Linked DNA regions of Homo sapiens: region 1 is linked to region 2. Evidence: promoter capture Hi-C in 16 types of primary human blood cells and fetal thymus (Javierre and others, 2016). All regions are on one chromosome and are shown on one strand. The core of a region is centred on a gene start or on the middle of the fragment in contact, and the rest is flanking DNA. Distances in the headings are between cores, read along the strand shown.

Region 1 (6,459 bases), core at 3,187-5,686, 450 kb before region 2:
CACATTCTTGGATTTATATAATAAGATTTTTAGCAAAATGCAAAGAAATACAGTTAACTGTAAGATGACAGTGGGAAAATTTAAACTTGTAGAATCTTTGTAAATTTTCAAGTTGTATTCTGAGAAAAGACAAAATATGCATTCAGTACTGTTGACTGACTGCACAGAGAAAGCAGCAAGCTGTCTCTGAACACTCTGAATATAATCACTGGTATGCTTAAGAGCACAAAATGATTCTCAAGGGTTGCTAATGAGCTGTAAACTGCCAGCATCTTGCCTGTGGAATCTCTTGGGAGCAAGAAAGTTATTTTGGAATGATTTTTTTTTAAAAAATCACAGAAGTCCAGATTTGGCCACCCTCAAATACGCTCCAGGGACAAAGCGGTCAAAACTCCCTTCTACAAAAGCTAAAGGAGGGGAAATGATGGCCCTGTCTTTTGTGTCTGCTTACAGTGCGGAAAGTTGGTACTTACAGTTAAACATAATTAGCCCTTAAATCCCAGGTGCTTAATTCAGCCCGTTAATGTTGCTTCACTGAATGGCTGATTCAGTAGGTTTCTGAGGCTGTGTCGTTTCTTTGGCCACAGGCTAGCTCCATTCCTCAGTGCTGGGAACAGAGCAAAAGCATTAAGGCAAAGTCCCAGCCTGCTTCCAACTTTCCCAGGAGCAGGGAAGCACTTGAAGATTTGGATTTGAGTGGGATATCCTACTAGGTTGCATACTATGGAAAAAGGAGGATTTATGGGAGGATGAAATGTCAGGGGGCAGGTACATTAGGCAGAGAAAGTCAGTCTGTCAGCTGGAAAACAGGGTTTGCCTGGATCAACCGCACTGAGTTAAACACACACACAACTGTATGTGAACATGCACAAAGATTGTTGTTCCAAAGGCGTCAAAGCTTCAGGACTGAGGGTGACATTTTTGTTCTTCTCTTTTTTTTTTTTTAATTTTTTTTTTTTAAGACATGGGATTTCACCATGTTGCCCAGGCTGGTCTCAAACTTCTGGACTCAAGAGAACCTGTCTCAGCTTCCCAAAGCGTTGGTATTACAGGTATGTGAGCCACTGAACCCGGCTGAGGGTGATATTTTCATACAGGGATATTTCACGACAGGGTTGGAGAATGGTCGCATGATTTTCCTGAACTTGAGAGGCCAAGATGCAGCTGGAGGTCAGAGGCAAGAAACCCCAAGTAGAATGTAATGAAGGAAACAAGGACTTTTTTTTTTTTTTTTTTTTGAGGCAGAGTCTTGCTTTGTCACCCAGGCTGGAATGCAGTGGTGCGATCTCTGCTCACCGCAACCTTTGCCTCCCAGGTTCAAGTGATTCTCCTGCCTCTCAGCCCCCCGAGTAGCTGGGACTACCAGTGCCGCGTCACCATGCCTGGCTAATTTTTTGTATTTTAGTAGAGACAGGGTTTTACCATGTTGGCCAGGATGATCTTGATCTCCTGACCTCGTGATCTGCCTGCCTCGGCCTCCCAAAGTGCTGGGATTACAGGCGTGAGCCACCGCGCCCGGCCGAAACAAGGACATTTTAGAAAAGAATGTGGGCGTTTGGAAATCTAAAGAGTAATGCTCAAATGAGATAATGCCTTGATGAAAAGCTGTAGTAGGAAGCTGGGGGTGATACAAACATATATATATATATATTTAACATTAGGCATCCAAATGTTTAACCACCCATATAGTTTGGTCCCGGGAATAAACACCCAGCCTGGCTGTACCCAAGTTCACTGGCTGAAAGTCAGCCAACAACAATGTGTGGAAAGTTTGTGTGTTTTGAAAAAAGAAGTAAAAGGCAGGTTGGGGGTGGTAATGGTGAAGTTGGAGCTACAAAAGCAAGCATGTTTTTGTTCATTGGAACGATGCAATATGATTTTGGGAAAATTTTCAGTGTAGAAAGCCGACTGATGGTGTGCTATTCTATGAAGCTGTGTGCCTGATCCAGTCACAGATTAGAACATAGGATGTGGATGATTCAAGAGGAGAGAACAGAGTGAGAGGTATATGCTGTTTTAGCAGGAGACTAACGAGCAGGGGGCTAGAAAGTAATTCTGGCTGGGTGCGGTGGCTCACACCTATAATTATCCAGCACTTCGGGAGGCTGAGGCGAGATGATCACTTGAGTCCGGGAGTTCAAGACCAGCCTGGGTAACATAGTTTAACCAGTCTCTAGAAAAAATAAAAAATTAGCTTGGTGTGGTGGTGTGTACCTGTAGTCCCAGCTACTCTGGAGGCTGAGGCAGGAGGATCACTTGAGTCCAGGAGGTCGAGGCTGCAGTGAGCTGTGATCACACCACTGCGCTCCAGCCTGGGTAACAGAGTGAGACTCGAAAAAAAACCCCAAAGAAATAAAAGTTTCTGTCCTCAGACTACCCATCTGCAGAGAACCCTTTTGTGTACAGGAGCTACCTGAGATGGAGAAACCACATCAGAGTGATTTCAGCTCACCTTAAAAACTGGCCCAACCTTCAGTGGAGAGAATCTAGGAACACCACTGGGATGGTGTTCCTACAGATTCCCTCAGGGTGGATAGCTTCACATTCGAGGCGAGGGAACCAAGCACCTGGTGGACGGATGCATGAGTATCCCACTGGGTTACAGATTCACCTCGGGTTTTTTTTTTTTTGAGACGGAGTCTCGCTCTGTCACTGGAGTGCAGTGATGTGACCTCGGCTCACTGCAAGCTCCGCCTCCCGGGTTCACGCCATTCTCCTGCCTCAGCCTCCCGAGTAGCTAGGACTACAGGCGACCGCCACCGCGCCCGGCTAATTTTTTGTACTTTTAGTAGAGACGGGGTTTCACCGTGTTAGCCAGGATGGTCTCGATCTCCTGACCTCGTGATCTGCCCGCCTCGGCTTCCCAAAGTGCTGAGATTACAGGTGTGAGCCACTGCGCCCGGCCTCAGCCAGGGTTTTTTTGTTTTGTTTTGTCTTTTTGAGACAGGCTCTTGCTCTTTCACACCCAGAGTGGACAGCAGTGGCGTGATCTTAGCTCACTGAAGCCTCCACCTCCAGGGTTCAAGTGATTCTCATTCCTCAGCCTCCTGAGTAGCTGCGACTACAGGCGTGTGCCACCACGGCTGGGAAATTTTTGTATTTTCAGTAGAGATGGTGTTTCGCCATGTTGGCCTGGCTGGCCACCTTGTGTAATTTTTGGCTGGATAATTAGTGCAGACACTCAGACTTTTCCTACCAAGGGTCCTGAAGGTGCCATATGCCTACTAGCAGGCAAGGCCACACAATGACACAGAAGGATGGCATCTGTGAGGATCAACTTTTGTTTGCTTTGCTTATAGTCTGTAATGCTGTGTATTCCAACACCTGGTCCTTCAGCAGTGGCAGTGGTATGGGGATGGGTAAAAAAATCCATAGAGGAAAAGAAGCAAGCCCATCAACCCACAGGTGAACAATTACTAACATTCCCTCGAGAATAGCTAAAGAGGAGAGAGAGAGAGAGAGAGAGAGGGCGAGCGAGAGAGAGAGAGAGGAAGCTACGCTTGCAAAGAAGATTGCTTTGTATTTTATTTACAACAGAATGTAAGAAAAAGTAAGTTATTAACAATAATAAATAACTAGGAAGAAAAACACAGAACAGCCACAAAATGACACAGAAGGATGGCATATGTAAGGATCAACTTTTGTTTGCTTTGCTTATAGTCTGTAATGCTGTGTATTCCAACACCTGGTCCTTCAGCAGTGGCAGTGGTATGTGGATTAATTTAACCAATCAAGATCCCAGCTTGAATGTAAACACTACAAATTACACTTGAGCTACATGTGAGTGGTACAGGTACAACACCAACTCAGAGACCCTCTCCTGGGTGATATATAGAAACTGAAGGGAGACTTGCAATTTGACAGACATGCTTTCAATTTAAAGCAAAAAACATCAAGAGGCTTATCCTAAAGTCCTTGTTAATTTAACAACAAAATTACAATTATTAATGGCATCTGAAAATTTCCCAACATATTCACATTCTCTTATTACACTAACTCCTAAAAAGCTTAAACACTTATATTTCAAATGCAAACAGATTGTTTTGAAGGTAGAACACAAAAGAACCCAATGTTTTGCCTCAGCATGCCAACAGTGTGCTATTGTGTACACTTCAGTTTCAGCAAGAATGAATAGTTAAAATAGTTTATTCATAATCAGATTGCAGTCACTGGACAGACTTTTTAAATCTCAAGAACTATGGCTCAGATGACAGATTGTCTCCTAGCCTACTGAGTCAGATGATCAGAAAGGTACTAAAACTATTTGGACAATTCCTCTCTATTGGATTATCTGATTACACATTATATGTAGAGTCAGCTATACACTGGCCCTTCTTAAGAGTAAAATTCCTATCGACGTAAGCCAGCCAATGACCTATTACTTTGTTGTCGCTGAGCCATGAAGAGATGCCAAAGAAAGTAGAATTTAAAAATACACATAAATACATTAGCCCTGAAACTTTTGCAGAGAATGATTTATCGAGATGTATCAGAATCTATTCTCTTAGTTCACTGTTTATTACAGTGTCTTGAAAGAAAACCACAGTTACTTTTGCAGGTATTGTGGTAAGTGTCTGCATAATATACCCACAACTGTGCTACTTAGAGATTTATTTTCAGGACCAACAACATGGCTAATAAATACTTCCAAATAAATTAAAATTTTCCTCACACACAGATGCAAAACCGTAACAGAAGCCTTGATAAATCAGTTCACCAACAAACCCATATTGTTTGAGTTACAACGGTGGCAACTAAAAATGTCACGGCCTCCTTCATTGTGTTCCTTTTCCTTTGCTTTGTCTTGCAACAACCCAAAGTGAGAAAATGAAATGATCTTCAGAGGTGATTTCTAACAAAGCTTATGTGTTAAATACACCAAGATCTTCTCATCCCAGGAAAGCACAGCTAAAGCAAGAATGCCGTGCTATGGCCAAGAAAATGCACAGGGGCACTTCACATTTGAAATCTTCCCAGAGTTATGAAATGTACAGTCATTTTGATGGTCTCCACTAACTTCAGAGATGAAGATGGAGTGAACGTATGTGATATTCTATGGATTATTTATTTAAGTTTGGCTACCAGAGACTTAAAACTGATGGTGTCTGATTCACTATACTATATTTATATTTATATATATATATATATATATATATACACAGGTATAATACAATTTTGGTGAACAAAGTTGAAGGTTTCCATATCGCAGACAGAGGCACTGAGTTAAGGATTCTATTTCCCCCCAAACATGCTTAGCAAATTCAAGTTTCTGCTTTTTTTTTCTTCTAATTTCCATCATGCAGCCATTTGGCTTCCATCCTTCTAAGAATTATTAATGTTCTGTATATATACATCCATTGCAGGCTTGTATTCCACAATAACAAAGTCATGTATAGAGAATGTGAAATGATACTTGAAAACCAAGATATATAAAATATTGAAGTCATTTATGCCTTTTGATGACTGGGTTAAATATGCAAAGCAGCTAAAGGAATATTTACACCACCCACCCCCTTTTTAACTCACACAAAGCATATGTAGACAGAAAAACTGAACATACTTTAAGAGCACACGCTTTTTTTTCGGCTAAGAATCACACTATCATCGTAGCTTTGCAACTGATGTCTGTGGTAACATACTGGTTATAAAAGAAATGAAACTCACAAAAGGAAATTAGAACTTAGCTTCCTAAAGCATATAGAATTGTTAACCTTGACAGCAGAAGCTACTTTATAAAAAGGGAAAATAGCAATGCTCTTAATGGAAAAACTAGGTGCCAGATGTGTTTAACAGCCTGCACAAAATAAATACATTCTATGTGAAAATAATGACCCCATCCCACCTTGATTTTAGCTTGCAAATGGTAAGCAAATACATATACTATTTCAGTGTCTTCTGAAAGTAGCATTTTGCTCTCTAAAGCAAAACATTTTCATTAAGTACTACTGTGTGGAGAGGGAGGGATTGAGAAGTCCGAGGGGTCTGATAAAATATTAGGTTTTCCCACAAGCAAAAATCATGCTTCCATACCATGCATAGAAGGTGTCTTACTAAGATACTATCATTCTTAGGGAAGAGATACACTGTTGATCTAAGCTATTTGCAACAGGTTTCCTTTGAGTTCTAGGTTTATTCTTTTTTTTTAAGCTAAATATCAACCTATAGATAAAGAAATGATCTTGACAGTCTGACCTATGACTTAGAAAACTTTGGTGCTGGGCTCATGGGGCCAGCGCCTGCACCTTGGGAGAGTGTATCAACCTGAAAGACACTACACAGAGTGCTGAGCACTGAGAGGGAAGCAGGCAGGGTCCACTGGCAGAGAGGCTGTGTGAGAGAAGCAGATTATGCTCCTTGGTCTATTTTGTTTCCTTTGGGATCTGTGTTTTGGGAAGGTCCCTTTCCTGAGGTTGGAGGTTACGATCAGGAAGGCTAGCTGGGGCGTGGGCCTCCAAGTTG
Region 2 (7,031 bases), core at 2,766-5,265:
AATTTTTGTACTAAGGCAAATGACCAGGGAGTGTAGTTGTAGAAGAGAAACCCAAGGACTGAGACTTGGGACTCTCCAAGCAGAAAATGAAGGCACTGCGGCCGGGCACAGTGGCTCACACCTGTAATCCCAGCACTTTGAGAAGCCGAGGCGGGTGGGTCACTTCAGGCTAGGAGTTCGAGACCAGCCTAGTTAACATGGTGAAACCCTGTCTCTACTAAAAATACAAAAATTACCTGGGCGTGGTGGTGTGTGCCTGTGGTGCCAGCATTCGGGAGGCTGAGGCAGGAGAATCGCTTGAACCCAGGAGGTGGAGGTTGCAGTGAGCCAAGATCGCGCCACTGCACTCCGGCCTGGGTGACAGAGAAAGACACTGTTTCAAAAAAAAAAAAAAAAAAGAAAAGAAAAGAAGCCACGGCCAGTGGGAGCAGAGGAGAAAGAAAAAATGTGGGAAGGAAGAGGGATGTGATGTCGGGGGGATCAGTTAGTTAGGGCTGTGTGTGTTCATGAGATCAGAATCAGAATTGAGCTAAATCAGTGGTGGCCAAGGGACCTGTTTTCCCTCAACACTGTTCCTTTCTGCCTGCCTCTAGCTGTGTGTGGTCAGTGGTCTGAAGAGATGCGAGGCAGGGCCCTCAGCATCTCACTTCACACTTTAGCACTCCTTTTCATCAACACGCCCATCCCTGAGAGAAGTTTGGTCATGTACTCGACTAATACTTGGTGAGCGTCTATGTATGTGCCAGGCCCTGGTCTAGTCACTGAGGCAAATAAGCCAGACAGAGCCTGTGCCCAGAGGGAGCATATGATCAAATGGGGGCGGGGCAGATAAGAAACAACTAACAACAGGCAAACAAGAGAACTTTTTTTTTGAGATGGAATTCTCACTCTGTCACCCAGGCTGGAGGGCAGTGGCACGATCTTGGCTCACTGCAACCTTGGCCCCCCAGGTTCAAGCAATTCTCCTGCCTCAGCCTCCCGAGTAGCTGGGATTACAGGCGCGCTGTAATTTTTGTACCTTTAGTAGAGACAGGGTTTCACCATCTTGGCCAGGCTGGTCTTGAACTCCTGACCTTGTGATCCACCCACCTTGGCCTCCCAAAGTGCTGGGATTACAGGCATGAGCCACAGCGTCCGACCTAAACAAGAGAACTTCTAACACAGGTCAAGTGTTCAGAGTGACTTGGTCTGGGTAGGGGGATCACAAAAGTCCTCTTTGAGGGGACCTAAATATGATGAAAAGATGATGGGTCGGGCGTGGTGGCTCACGCCTGTAATCCCAGCACTTTGGGAGGCCAAGGCGCATGGATCACGAGGTCAGTAGTTCAAGATCACCCTGGCCAAGATGGTGAAACCCTGTCTCTACTAAAAATACAAAAATGAGCCGGGCGCGGTGGCGGACGCCTGTAATCCCAGCTACTCAGGAGGTTGAGGCAGAGAACAGCTTGAACCTAGAAGGCGGAGGTTGCAGTGAATTGAGATCGCGCTACTGCACTCTAGCCTGGTCGACAGAACAAGACTCTGTCAAAGAAAAGATAATCAGAAGATCTGGGGGAATAGGGTTCTCACTGGAAGGAAGCTTGGGGCGCTGCAGGGAAAGAGAGAAGGCCAGCCTGGACCACTGCTGGTGAGGGAAGGTGGGACCACCTCACACAGGAGCTTGTAGGCCAGGGTTGGGAATCTGGGTTTTATTCCAAGGTTTCAGCAGAGAAGTCTCGATCTGATTTACATTCATAAAATATCACAGGGTTGGTCAGGTGGAGGATGCATTGTAGGTATCCAGGAGGGGCAGGGAGAAGAGTCGGCAGGCCGTCCCAGCTCAGGCAACAGGCGGTGTATTTGACAAGGTTGGGCTTGGATGCACACACTGGAGGCAGTGAATGGGTTGGGCAGTCACACAAACTGAACACTTATTTGGGTCAATGCCTATACAAGGCAAAGAAAGGCTGCTTATCAAAGAAACGTGTTTGGGAGACACAGTCCTTGCCCTCAACTTATTTCCTGTTTACTTATATTAGGTGGGTGCAAAAGTCACTGCGGCTTTTGTCATTACTTTTGCATAAACTCAGACCACATACCTAAAGGTGCCATGCAAACAAAACCACCATTAAGCCAGTGCATACCAGTGGCTAAATAAGTGCAAAAGAGGAATTGGAAAAGAAGCACCTGGGGTACCCTGGAAAGAGACATTGGAGCCTTCTTCAGACGGGCCAAGCATTCCCTTTTCCAGCAGGAGGGGCGCTGCCTCCCCCCAGCCTAGCCCATGCCCTTGGTGGCTACCTTGCTGGGCCGTCTAAGAACCTGGCTCCAGGCTCCAGTTTCTCCACTTATTCCGAGGTGAGAAGCAGGTGACTCAGGGGAGGTTGCTCCCCAGCACGCTGCGTTCTTGGCTGGGAATGACTCACTACCTCGTTCCCTCCTTCACGAGTGACCCGGGGCCAATCCCTTAATGTGTCTACACCTTCTCATCAGACCGGGACAATTGCCTGGTGGAGTTTTTGGCTCCCCAGGGGCAGGGCTCCTGTCTGCCACCGTTCACGTTCCTAGTGAGGCTGTTGATAGGGTCTGGAGGAGCGTAAAATCCTCGGGTAGATCCAAGGCCCCAGGCCCTCCCCGTGCACCGAAAGAGGGTTTTAATGCCAGTGCTTCTGCGGTCTTCTAAAGGTAGAGCCGTTCAACAGCATTTTGTACCGAATACAATTCGCAAGCATTCCTGTCTTGGAGAATTTTCTTTTGGGTATCTCCTTGTTGTAAAAACTTGCTTGGAAAAAAAAAAAAGCAACTGGAGCAGGCCTCCAAAGACAGCAAAGCAGGGACCAGAGGCTCTGCGGAGAGCGCGGGAGGAGGCTGACCAAGGGGCCTCCGTTGCTGGGGGGACCTGGGCGGCTGGACGCCGGGGTCAGTACGCTGCTCGCCCCGCGCAGCCGAAAGCGGGCGTGGTGTCGCGGGGAGAGGATGCCCGGCAGCAGTGTGGCCGGCGGGCTGGGGGTACTCGCCCGGGTCAGAGACCTCAGCCCGCGCCAAGGCGCCCCACACTTTCCAGCGCAGCGGGTCGCAGCCCGGAGACGCCGGGCGTCCCCACCTCCAGCCTCCCGAGCTGCAGCGGCGCCCGCGGTTCTCCCCCGACCCGCCAGGTGGACCCGGACTGGCGCACCCTGCTTTCCGCCCGGGACCCTCCCCCGAGCCCTGGCTGCCTCCGCGCCCCGCCCCGCCCGGAGCCCGCAGCCGGCGCCCCGGATTACCTGCCCCGGAGTCACAGTCCGCAGCCCGGACGCTCCCAGGGTGGCTCCGCGGAGCCTGGAGCCACATTCCTAGGGGAGGGGTCCCCACCTAGAGGGTCGCGGATCACGTTACCCGCCCGGAGGAGGAGACCGCGGGACACAGAGTAAACAAGGGGTAAAAAGTTGCATTTGGCTCAATTTTTTTTTTTAAATCGTGCTTCGACGCTGGTGGACTCGGGGACACGGCGTCCTCCCAGTTCCCGGAGCCCAACGGCCCCGGGGCGGTTTCCCAGGGCAGAGGCACCTCTCCGGGCGGCGGGTGCGGAGCTGGTCTGCGCGGCCTCTGAAGGCGACCCCGGCCGCTCGCGGGCTTCCTGGAAGCGCGGCCGCAGGAGCAGAAACGCTCACATCCACGCGCACAAATAAATCCGCGAGCAGCTCCGCGCCGCGCCGCGGGCGGCAAGGAAACCTCGGGTTGATTCAATGCAGACGCGGGGCGTCTGCCCGGGCAGGAACGCGGCGAGGCGAGAGGACCGGGCGTGGGGGCAGGGAGGCCGGGGCAGGAGAAAGGGAGAAAACCCCAAAGCCACGTTTTAAAAATGCGGGTGAATTTTCAATGCCGTCAGCCCGGGGGAGGGGAAGGGGCCAGCTGCGGGCGCCGGGGTCGGCAGTCCACCCGGGGCAACTTTCCGGGCGGGAGGCGCGGCCGGAGGGGGCGGCGCCGGCGGCGGGAGGCGGGAGTCGGGGGCCGGGGGGAGTCACTTTAAAGGCTCTTTCTTACCCATAATGCTTTGTGGGGACGTTGACAAGTGGATCCAAGATGGCGTAGAAAGTAATGACAGGTAAGTCCTGACTTCCCCCTTCTCTGCTCCTGGGGCCGCTCCGCGAGCTCCCGGAGCTCTCCGGGGAGGGGACCCGACTCCCCTCCGGTGTCCCGGACCCCGGGCGCGGCGGCCCCGGGGCAGGCTGGGGGCCTGGGCGGCCCGCGGCTGGGCCTGGGAAGCGCGGCTCTTCGAGGCGAGGCCCGGACGCTGGGGCTGTTTACAGCTTCTTCCCCTACTTAGTCCCCTTCCCCTCCGCTGGGGCCCGCAGCGTCCTGGGCCCTGGCAGGAGAGGGGGCCTTGCACGCCTGGCCCGGGAGCCTGCGGGAGGTTTCTCCGGCCCAGAGCACTCTGGGAGGGGGACTCGAGCCTCCCGGCACGTTCCCCTCCTCCGGGTCGCGGCTGGGGGTGGGGAGCGTGCGGGCCTCCCACGCCCCGCTCGATGCCCCCCCTCAGGCCTCGGACTTCCACCGGGTGGGGTGGGGGCTGGAGCGGGGGCGTGGGGAAAAGTGGGTCAGGCGTGCGCCCCCTCCCTCCCCCGCGGAGGGCTCTCGGCCCGAGATTCACTTTCTTCCCCCCTTTCCCCGCCCCCTCCTCGGAAATGCTCTTTGGCCCACAAGCACATCAACAAAAATAAAGATAGGCTCTCTTTTCCTGGAGATTCCTTGAGAGTACTCCAGTACCCTTTTCAAGGGCTCACAGACTGCAGTCTTACCTAGGGAACTTCGATTCCTCTCCCCTAAATTATTGGAGCCTTCTGCACCCTCGCCTTTGCTGAGAAATCTTCAGACAGGGCTGGAAGCCAGGGTCCTCTGATTGTTCTTGGATCGGGATCCTCAGGTTTTGTTTGCAGTTCAAAAATTGTCATTCCTTCTCCCTCACAACTTAACACTTCTCAGGCAAATCATTAATATAATAAAAAGTGTAACTTCAGAGACAGTGGATTCCTGGAGCGGGGGAAGGAGGGAGGAGTTGTCTGTCTTGCCTAGTTTGTTCTTAATTTTGCTCTCTCTTAAACTCATATTAATGAAATTTCCTCTCCTTCATTTCTTTATGTTTTTGAAAGTAAGGTCAGTCTGTGTTGAAAAAGATGATTTTATTATGTTTTTGAGTTTTAAGAGCATTGTATAATCTATTCTTTTACCTTACTGAAAGGAAATGTTTTAAGGTCAAAAACCAGACTCATTTGCAAAGCTGCACACTGTACCATTTTTGTAACTTTTTCCATTTTAAATGTAGATGCCCTTTCACTTCAGGCTGATAAAATGTTTGCTACTGATAATGTCTGTTACTGGTGTTGTATGGAAACATCTTTTCTATTTGCCTCAGGATTTGGATGAAGTAATGGATCACTAATGAACTACAGTGCTGGTGAGATGTGTAAGGTGAGACTGCAGTTAAAAATGATTTCCTTTTTTTCCTTCTTTATTTTAATCAACTGGTAAGAGTAAGGCTGAAACTGAGTAATTTGATGGGGCCATCTTTGTTTTCCAAATGTATCACTCAGTCAGTGGGTCTATGGGCAGGGCTAGATTTAGAAAGGAAAAATATGTTGAATGTACCAATCTTTTCAGTTGCTCCAACATACTCAAACATAGTGGTACTTAACTAAGAGCCAAATGTTACTTGCAGCTATTCTTGATCAGTATCTTCACCAGGGATAATTATAGTTTGCCTATTCAAATTTTCTTGCGTAACTTTACTTGGATGTCTTAATTTTATTTGTGTTTTGGTGTCTATCACCTACTGTACGTTTAGTCCCGGTGATTATGTATATGGATTTTGTGTGTACCTGGTTTGTGGGACTCGTAAAGTATACCCTTTCCGTTAGAAAGAATTAGGCAGGTCAATCACTCCTGCTTTTATTTTCTGAAAAATGGAGTAGTACTTTTCTCTTTAATAATTATTTTGAAATAAAGATGATAGTGTTGAGATCTGTTTAGCTTATTAGGAAATAGACTAGTTTGTCATTATGTCCTGATCACACACGGTGTGTGAATTTATTCAAAGTGCTTTATTTAATCTAATTTGTAATGCTTTGGATTTAAAGGATATTATTGATACAGTGTTAGTGAATAGTTTTCTGTGCTATAGAGAGGAAGAGAAGTTTGCTACTTTTACATTTTTCACGAGTTTTCTCAACTTAAAATGTTTTACTAAGTTTTTTTTTAGAAAAATAATAAGTAATTGTGGTCGATTGGTTACTGTAGTTTTTTTTTTGTTGTTTCTCCACACATCTGGGCCTCTGGATTTTGAAATCCTCTCACAAATTTTTCGTGTCTATCACAACATCTGTTTAAGAAGAATAAGCTATCCTTTTTTTTTTTTCTAGATTGAGGCATGTAATTGACATTTTGCCTTAAAAAAATAAAAACTTAGGAAAGGAAGGTGGACATAAACCAAGATTCTTTTGTAAGTGCACATACTGCATTTTCTTGTGTTTGAAACTCAGCAGTGCTTATGTTTATTTCATATAATTTTTATTTTTGGCAGAGCAAATATGGATTTTTAAATTTATTTTTATTTTGCAGATGGAGGCATATTCCTGCCTTAGACCTCCCAATTTGAACTTTATATATGTGTGTATATATACATATATGTGTGTATATATACATATATGTGTGTATATATACATATATGTGTGTATATATACATATATGTGTGTATAGATATGTGTGTATATATGTATATATGTGTATATATGTGTGTATCTATGTATATAGATAGATAGATTTTTTTTCTTTTTTTTTTTTTTTGAGACAGAGTTTCACTCTTGTTGCCCAGGCTGGAGTGCAATGACGCGATCTCAGCTCACTGCAACCTCTACCTTCCAGGTTCAAGCAATTCTCCTGCCTCAGCTTCCCGAGTAGGGATTACAGGCTTACGCCACCACACCCGGCTAATTTTGTATTTTTAGTAGAGAGAGGGTTTCACCATGTTGGTCAGGCTGGTCTCGAGCTCCTGACCTCAGGTGATCTGCCCGCCTTGG

What was found. The method cuts DNA at HindIII sites, captures the fragments that hold promoters and counts their contacts. A CHiCAGO score of 5 or more calls a contact.
Region 1: a contact is called between a fragment that was not itself captured here and the fragment with the promoter of HELZ in region 2, in 1 of 17 cell types (total B cells). The highest score is 5.2, in total B cells.

The regions. Positions count from the first base shown.
Region 1 is chr17:67,694,305-67,700,763 of GRCh38, reverse strand. It overlaps PITPNC1 (phosphatidylinositol transfer protein cytoplasmic 1), which reads right to left. Exons shown (of 9, transcript NM_012417.4): 9 at 3,508-6,459. LOC101928045 (a long non-coding RNA gene) reads left to right here. Exons shown (of 4, transcript NR_188294.1): 2 at 963-1,052. Among named protein-coding and RNA genes, the nearest start is that of NOL11, 20 kb to the left of the region's middle. The HindIII fragment of the contact is 854 bases long and covers 4,010-4,863 here.
Region 2 is chr17:67,242,180-67,249,210 of GRCh38, reverse strand. It overlaps HELZ (helicase with zinc finger), which reads left to right and starts at 4,015. Exons shown (of 33, transcript NM_014877.4): 1 at 4,015-4,063; 2 at 5,372-5,427. It overlaps HELZ-AS1 (HELZ antisense RNA 1), which reads right to left and starts at 4,435. Exons shown (of 4, transcript NR_136398.1): 1 at 4,003-4,435. RefSeq lists silencers at 2,998-3,197, 3,208-3,297, 3,848-4,337, 4,438-4,487 and enhancers at 2,817-3,803, 3,804-4,791. The HindIII fragment of the contact is 7,952 bases long and covers 1,582-7,031 here.